Linked DNA regions of Homo sapiens: all the other regions are linked to region 3. The links are contacts of gene promoters, found by promoter capture Hi-C in blood cells and fetal thymus (Javierre and others, 2016). All regions are on one chromosome and are shown on one strand. The core of a region is centred on a gene start or on the middle of the fragment in contact, and the rest is flanking DNA. Distances in the headings are between cores, read along the strand shown. Region 1 holds the start of CRYAA (crystallin alpha A). Region 2 overlaps LOC101928369 (a long non-coding RNA gene). Region 3 holds the start of PDXK (pyridoxal kinase).

Region 1 (2,700 bases), core at 98-2,597, 550 kb before region 3:
AATATCAAAATACCAAAATATCAAAAGACTTAAAACTAGGAGTGAGCCAGGTGCAGTGGCTCACGCCTGTAATCCTACACTTTGAGAGGCCAAGGCAGGTGGGTCACCTGAGGTCAAGAGTTTGAGACCAGCCTGGCCAACACGGTGAAACCCTGTCTCTACTAAAAATACAAAAATAATAATAATAATAATAATAATAATAATTAGCCAGGTGTGGTGGCAGGCACCTGCAGTCTCAGCTACTCAGGAGGCTGAGGTGGGAGAATTGTTTGAACCTGGGAGGCAGAGGTTGCAGTGAGCTGAGATCGCGCCACTATATGATCTGGGCGCCACTCTGGGTGACACAGCAAGACTCCATCTCAAAAACAAACAAACAAAACCGGGAGTGCCTGGACACTTAGTGAGAACTGGACAGGGGCCATGGGTCGAGGAGCAAAATAATCACCAGGACTTGTGGATAACAGGATCATGTGGGTGGTGGGTCCGCATGGGTGACAGGGACGTGGGGACATGTCGCCACCCTGACAGGAGCAGCCCAACTCAACAGCCACGGCAGGTCATGCCACGGAGGCTCGAGGCGTTACGTGGGGATGTTACATCAAGGCATTACATCATTACGAGATGTAACGCTCGAGGCGTTACATCGAGGGGACGATGGCCATGGGGCTGGGCGTCCAGGGTGGGCCGCAGAGGGAAGCTCACCACGTGGTGCTCTCATCTGCCCACAGCCCAGCCCGTCTTCCTGTTGGAGGCATGTGACCCCTGGAGGACAAGCATGAAACGCCATAGGGCTCCCCCAGGTGCTGGAATTATGGCACCTTGCAGCTTCTTCTCCACGAGTTTTAACAAGCATGCGTACTTTTGTAAGTGGTGAGTGTAACGGAGGTTCACAGATGCACTCCGCTTTGGAAACCAGTGCACTCTTGCCCAGGCCCGGTGAGACTCTGAGGACGATGTGTCTAACCTCTGTGTCTAACGGGGGTGTGTGCTCTCCCTCCTCTGGCGACCATGAGGACCACCCCGGCAGGACAAGGTGTGCAGAGAACTAGCATGGTCCCTGGCACGTAGCCCCTGCCCAGTGACTGGCAGATGAGAAGCTCCATTGTCGCCCCAGGCGAGTATGGGGCACAGGCGCCTCCTTGGGTTGTCTGCCCTCCCGGGAGCCCCAGGGTGCCCAGGCGGGCCTCAGCTGAGTCCAGGCCTCGGGGACAGTCCGTGCAGCCCCTCCTGGGGCTGGGGGCGGGCACTTGTCCCAGCCACGTTTCTGCTGACTGAGCAGCCTTCTTCATGAGCTCACGCCTTTCCAGAGAAATCCCTTAATGCCTCCATTCTGCTGGTGGCATATATAGGGAGGGCTCGGCCTTGGCTCCACACTGCGCTGCCCAGAGGCCCCGCTGACTCCTGCCAGCCTCCAGGTCCCCGTGGTACCAAAGCTGAACATGGACGTGACCATCCAGCACCCCTGGTTCAAGCGCACCCTGGGGCCCTTCTACCCCAGCCGGCTGTTCGACCAGTTTTTCGGCGAGGGCCTTTTTGAGTATGACCTGCTGCCCTTCCTGTCGTCCACCATCAGCCCCTACTACCGCCAGTCCCTCTTCCGCACCGTGCTGGACTCCGGCATCTCTGAGGTAAGACGTGGCCCGTGGTGCTGGCCTCTCCTCGCTGCTCAGAGGGTGGTGGCCTCGGTGGGTGGAGAGCGATGGACTCTGGTCTTGCTCCGTCAGGCAGGTGGCCTCGTCCCACTTCATCCCCTTGCAGAGGCTGGGCGAGAGCCTGTGTCCCCACTGCAGCCACGTGGCAGAGCTTCCCCTGGCACTGGGGAGAGGGTGGACAAGGGAGCAGCCTGAATCCACCTTTGCTTTCCTCCATCAGCTCATGACCCATGTGTGCTTTGTAAGGCACCAGCCACATACTGGAAACCCCAAGAGCAGCCCATCCAGGCATGCGTGGTGGCGAATGCCAGCTCCCGGGTTCCTCTGGTCTCCTGAGTCCCGGAGACCTGGGAGCAGGTGGGGGTCATAGTCCTGAAAGCCAGAGAGCAGGGCGTTCCTAGCACCTCCTCCAATGAGCTCGGCCTGCCCACGGCTAGCAAAGCTCTTGGCAAGTTTACTTAGGTGCCCTGCCAAGGCTAAAAGGACAGGCAATGGACGCCCCCCCCCCCACCCAACCACAGGCCTCCTCTCTGAGCCACGGGTGAGCGGTGCAGGTTCTGCTGTTCTGGAGGGCCTGAGTCCCACCCAGCACCTCATAAACAGGGTCCTCCCCAGGGCTGCTGCAGTAGGCATCAACGCCAGGGTGCAAAATGCCTCAGGGAGCCAAGGCTGAGCCAGGGGAGTGAGAAGGAGCATGTGGAAGTGCGTTTTGGAGAGGCAGCTGCGCAGGCTGTCAGCAGGCTCCGGCCGCTTCTATAGACAGCATGACACCAAGGGCAGTGACCTCATTCCACAGGCTGAGTCCAGCCAGCCAGCCAAGCATCACCAGCCAGACGATTGACCCTAACGGACCAACCAACCCGTAACGACCCCTCCTACCATAACCAGTAGCCAGCCAGCCCATAACCAGCCAACTTATCTATAACCAGCCACCTGACCATAGCCAAACAACCAGCCGGCCCACCAGTAGCATTCAGCCCCTCAGCTGGCCCTGAGGGTTTGGAGACAGGTCGAGGGTCATGCCTGTCTGTCCAGGAGACAGTCACAG
Region 2 (2,700 bases), core at 73-2,572, 590 kb before region 3:
AGGTGATTCTCCCACCTCAGCCTCCCGAGTGACTGAGACTACAGGCATGTACCACCATGCCTGGCTAATTTTTTTTGAATTTTTAGTAAAGGTGAGGTTTTGTCATGCTGCCCAGGCTGGTCTCAAACTCCTGGGCTCAAGCCATCTGCCCACCTCGGCCTCCCAAAGTGTTGTGATTACAGGCGCGAGCCAGTGCAGCCAGCTGGTTATTTCTCTATAGCAATGCAAGAATGGCTTAATACATCTCCCCTCCCCTACATGGGACAAGGCCATCTGATAATTAACCTTCCTAGCAACTCAGGACTAAGCTCCTGAACATAAAGGGAGCCAAAACAATTTGCATTTTTCTATGAGGCCTTCTTTGAAAGGTCTTGATGAAAAGGGGAGAAATGGGGAAAAAAATAGCACAGAGCAGTCTGAGCTATGTGAGGTGTGCCAAAGTTATCAGGCCCAGAGAGACAGGAGAGTGGGGCTTTTTGTTTTGTTTTTGTTTGAGACAACATAGTGAGAGCCTGTCTTTATAAAAAATTTTAAAAAATTATCCAAGCATAAGGGCATGTGCCTGTGGTCCCAGCTACTGAGGCAGGCTGAGGAGAGAGGATTGCTTGAATCTGGGAGGTTGAGGCTGCAGTAAGCTGTGATCACACCACTGCACTCCAGACTGGGTGACAGAGTGAGACCCTGTCTCAAAAAAAAAAAAAAAAAAAGAACCCACTGCTGCTAATTGGAGCATCTATTCAGGGGAACTTGAATCTAGGCTCCCAGGTGGCCATCCTTAAGCTTTGGGCTTGAATAAACTTTGTACTTAATCATATTTTCTAAATCTCATTATTTAAAGTCGAGAATTCATTCCTCCCTTCATCTGTTCATTCATATGTCTGTCCTTTCACCCACCAATCCGCTCATCTAGCCATCCACCCATTTGTCTGTTAGTCCGTCCATCCATCCATCCATCCATCCACTCACCCAGACATCCATCCATCCATCCATCTGTCCTTTCACCCACCCATTTATTCATCCATTCATCCATCCATCTATCCATCCCACTGAGTCATTCATCCATCTATCCATCCATCCATCTGTCCGTCCATCCATCTTATATTTTGGGGGGCATGTCTGATGTGTCAGATACTGTGGCAGGTGCACAGACACAAATTCGGAAGACAGATCTCCACTTAGAAGTGTGCCAGGCACCTCAGCTCAACATATCTCCAGCTGACTTCATTTTATCCTTCTCCTCCCATCTCTTGACGTTCTGTTCAAGCATTTAGTAAATGCCAGTCATCTATAGCCTGAGCCCACCTGGGTTGCCCTAAGTTGTCTGATTCACATCCATTCTAATTCCTTGGCTTCTCTCAACCATGTCTGCTCCTTTTCCTCCTCTTGGCCATTCCTGAGTGTACCTGGATCACTACAGCAGTATCTATGCTGTTTCCTCCTTTTCTAGGTGACCATTTGTCCTTCTGCCAGAGGGCTCTGTGGGAAATACAGATTCGATCCTGCTGTTTCTTACTGGGAACCCTCCATGGCTCCCAGTCCCTGGAATGTGCCGGGCAACTTTCAGCTCTTGGTCGTGGGAGCCTCCTGCCTGTGCACAGTGTGTTCTTCCAGGACCCATGCCCACTCCCTCCTTCCCAGCATTCCAGTTTGGCCCTTGAGGCCTCCTTGGAGTCATCCCCCTCCCAGATGTGCAATGCATTTTGGGTTCTCAACAGCTTCCCCTCCTTACCTGCAAAGGTTGAACAGACCTGGATCTGCTATCCTGCTTTGCCACTTCCTGCTGCATGACCTGCATTATGAAGTTCTCTAGACTCAGGGTTTCCATTGGCTAATAGGATCAGCCAACCTGCCTTTGAGGAGTGGACGAAGCTTGGCACTTAGTAGGTGCCCATGAGGCATCAGAAACTGCCCTTGTTGAATGATGCTCTAATGCGGTGTTGACATCTCTGTCCTACTAGACTGGGGTTGCTTTGAGGACTCCAATTCTGTCTTTTCATCCTGATTCCATGATGGAACAGACCCACAGGCCCTTGTCAGCATTCCAAAAAGCAAAAAGCTGTGAAAATGAAAAGGACTTTTTTTTTTTTTCTGTAAACTTGGTGCCAAAATTTGCAAAAGCTGACCTGACCCAAGGTGTTGGCAGCATCCCAACACTCCCTCTGTTACAGGCACCTCTGCTGGTTGCTGACAATGTATATGTTTTAATTTTTAAAATGCATTTGTCTTTTTGTGACCATGGGTTTAATTGCACTGTGAATTCATACAAAAAGGGTAGCATGTACCCAGTGCTCACTGTGGGAAGGACACATGGAAACACTCTCTTTGTCAATAGTGCAGAAAGCATCAGTGATGTTGGGAAGCCATCAAAAGACAAGCAGTTGGGCTGTGCGTGGTGGCTCATGCTTATAATCCTAGCACTTTGGGAGGCTGAGGTGGGAGGATTGCTTGAGGTCAAGAGTTCAAGACCAACCTGGCCAACATAGCAAGATCCCCTCTCTATTAAAAAAAAGACAAACAGTTGAAAATTTATAATAATTGTGATTACCAAGAGCCATTGAAATATGGAAAACACAGGGTCAGTGGGGTGTGGTGTAGGGAGAGAGATCTTGACCAGGAATGGATGGAACGGAATTGGCAATGAAGTAGTCACTGTATGCCAAGGAGTGGTTTGTTGGTTATGAAAGAAGCTGGAATACAGCA
Region 3 (2,700 bases), core at 142-2,641:
TTTTTGAGACAGAGTCTCTCACTGTCACCCGGGCTGGAGGGCAATGGCGCGATCTTGGCTCACTGCAACCTCCACCTCCTGGGTTCATGCAATTCTCCTGCCTCAGCCTCCCAAGTAGCTGGGATTACAGGTGCACACCACCACACCCAGCTAAATTTTTGTATTTTTAGTAGAGATGGGGTTTCATTATGTTGGCCAGACTGGTCTTGAACTCCTGACCTCTTGATCCGCTCAACTCAGCCTCCCAAAGTGCTGGGATTATAGGCGTGAGCCACCGCGCCCGGCCAATGTTAGCTATTATTAATGGACAATTATGACTAATTATGAAGTACTTTCTTTTAAAAGCCTAGATCTCTAAGTAATGTCTTCCTCCCTCAGTCCTCAGCACCCGCCTGGTCGGGCATTGGGTCTCACCAAGCTACAGAGCCCTAGGTGCGCTGTGTTAGGTCACCAAGACTTTAGTCTGGTGATACTGACCCCAGGGCCCCAAATCACCATGTCTGCAAGTCTGGAACCCAAAGGCCTCCGTTCCCCGGGGTGGTGCAGGGAAGCCGCAGGGAGTGCGTCAGCTGTGGAGAGCGTAGGGGTGGGAAGTGAAGGCTGTGGGGTCCCCCAGGGGGTCAGGTTCGTCCTCGAAGGCAGGCCCTCCACAGGAAGACCTGGTTGGGGTGGGATCGGACACGCGGCCCAGACCCAGGCACCTGTGGATGGACGGCCGGGCATGTGGCCATCGGCTGGGGGCCTCTGCAGGCCGCGCCACCAGAGTGGGCACTCAGGGTCCGCAAGGGTCTGGGGCGCCCCCAGAGAAGCCCGCCGCCCCAGGCCGGTGCGGAGTTGACTGGGTCCCCCCGGCCCCGTGTCTGTCAGCTCCCGCGCGGCCCCTGGGAAGGGACGCGGATCGGATGCGGGCTCCGGGCCCTGCAGGCAGTTGAGAGCGCGGTTCCCTTGGGTATCCGGGGTCCGGGGTCACTTTCGCGCCTCCGCACTATTCCCACGCCCGCGCGCACTCTCGTGGCCATCCGCGTTGCGAGAGTGTCGCGCCCGGAGGTCAGGGGCGTGGAGCCCGGGCCCCCGAGTCTCCCCTGCGTGCGGCGGGGCGCGGGGCGCGGGGCGCGGGGCGCAGGGCTGAGGCGGAGCACAATGGTTGAATGAATGAATGAACGAACGAATGAACGGCGCTGCAGAGCCCTCTCCAGGCGGAATGAAAGTGCAAACCCAGCGTTTCGGGCGGCAGAGTGGCGGGGGCCACCTGGCGCGGCCGCGCGGCCAGGGTCCGGTTTCGCTTCCTCCCAGCCCGGGGGCGGGGCCTGCGTGGCTGTCCCCGCCCCGGTCCGCCCCCGGCCAGCCCCCGGCGCCGCGCGGAACTCGCGGGTTCGGAGCCGCCCGCTGAGGTCAGAAGGAGGCGTCTGCGCTGATCGGGTCCGCCGCGCGCCAGAGCCAGAGTCGCAGCCGAGGGGAGCCGGGGCCGGAGCCCGAGCCCGAGCCGAGCCGGAGCCCGAGCGAGCGGCGGAGACCGTGCCCCCGCCTCGGCCCCGCGCCGCCGCGGCCAGGCCCGGCATGGAGGAGGAGTGCCGGGTGCTCTCCATACAGAGCCACGTCATCCGCGGCTACGTGGGCAACCGGGCGGCCACGTTCCCGCTGCAGGTACGCATCCGCCCGCAGCCCGGGCTTACGTAACCCGAGCCCGTGACCTTGGCGGGGCTGCCCGAGACGAGCCTCAGTTCCCCGAGGGAGGCTCGGGAGCTGCGGGCAGAGCCTGGCGCGGGCGCCCTGGAGGCAGGCGCGGGATGAGCCTCCCGCTCTGCTTGGCTTGCGGGGGCGGAAGCGGAGGGCTGAGCGCTCTGCGGGCCCCTGCGGGTGGGACGGGTCCGGCGTCGGGGTACGCGGGTAGGAGGGAGCCCTGTGCACCAGCTATGGCGCAGCCGCTCGTCCTCGCCCCTTCCCGCCGACCGGGCCAACTGCCGCGGGGGCGGGCGGGCGGTGCGGCTCCCGGAGGCGAGGAAATGTCGCAGAGCCCCGAGGAGTCCCGGAGCAGTCACGCGAGCCGGGACCTTGCCCCGCTGGAACGCAGAAGCGGCCGTGGAGCTCGAGACGCTCGCGCGCTCACCTCCTGGGCCCCTGTGCGTGGGGAAGTCAGGAAGAAGACGCCGAGTGAGGTCACGGTGCCCACGAGGGTGGATTCCCCTCGGCCTGACCACGCCAGGAGGTGGCCGAAGGGAAGAGGGTGGGGCAGGGGCTGCTCTGCACCCTCTAGCAGAGCGGCATCCCTGCAGGTGTTTGCTCTGACGAGGAGAAGCCCCAGAGAGCAGTTCGGGACTGTGCGGATTGGCTTTAGGGAGCCAGCTTTTAAAACGCGTTGGCCCACGGCCTCCTGGTTGCAGCTAAGTGGCCCGTGGAGGGGTAGGAGAGGCCTGGGTGCAGTGGCGTGGGTGTCACGCAGGGCCGAGGCAGAACCAGGACGACGGGCACTTCCTGGCCTTGTCGAGTCAGCAGGAGGGCTGGGGGTGCCCTGCCGGGTCGTGCTCTCCTGTGCTGCCCACCTGCGGCCTGGTCACTGGGGACGGGAGCAGGTATGCCTGGTCCCTGTGCTGGGCCCCACGGGATGTAAAGAAGGGCCACCTGGGCACGGCGGGGCCTGCGGTGCGGGCTGGCCTGGGAGGAGGACAGGAAGAGGGGAGCAGAGCTTCAGTGGAATTTGAG

What was found. The method cuts DNA at HindIII sites, captures the fragments that hold promoters and counts their contacts. A CHiCAGO score of 5 or more calls a contact.
Region 1: the fragment with the promoter of CRYAA here is called in contact with the fragment with the promoter of PDXK in region 3 in 5 of 17 cell types (naive CD4 T cells, total CD8 T cells, M1 macrophages and 2 more); the score reaches 6.3 in naive CD4 T cells.
Region 2: a fragment that was not itself captured here is called in contact with the fragment with the promoter of PDXK in region 3 in 1 of 17 cell types (M1 macrophages); the score reaches 5.2 in M1 macrophages.

Annotation. Positions count from the first base shown.
Region 1 is chr21:43,167,661-43,170,360 of GRCh38, forward strand. CRYAA (crystallin alpha A) reads left to right here and starts at 1,348. Exons shown (of 3, transcript NM_000394.4): 1 at 1,348-1,628. The coding sequence starts at 1,440. The region is part of intron 1 of LOC107987300 (a long non-coding RNA gene); the gene reads right to left. The HindIII fragment of the contact is 23,635 bases long and covers 1-2,700 here.
Region 2 is chr21:43,126,931-43,129,630 of GRCh38, forward strand. All of the region lies in intron 3 of LOC101928369 (a long non-coding RNA gene), which reads left to right. Among named protein-coding and RNA genes, the nearest start is that of FRGCA, 13 kb to the right of the region's middle. The HindIII fragment of the contact is 1,089 bases long and covers 779-1,867 here.
Region 3 is chr21:43,717,738-43,720,437 of GRCh38, forward strand. PDXK (pyridoxal kinase) reads left to right here and starts at 1,392. Exons shown (of 11, transcript NM_003681.5): 1 at 1,392-1,644. The coding sequence starts at 1,558. It overlaps LOC124905032 (a long non-coding RNA gene), which reads right to left and starts at 811. Exons shown (of 2, transcript XR_007067896.1): 1 at 478-811. RefSeq lists enhancers at 694-743, 2,085-2,700 and silencers at 894-1,683, 1,724-2,033, 2,191-2,380. The HindIII fragment of the contact is 18,691 bases long and covers 1-2,700 here.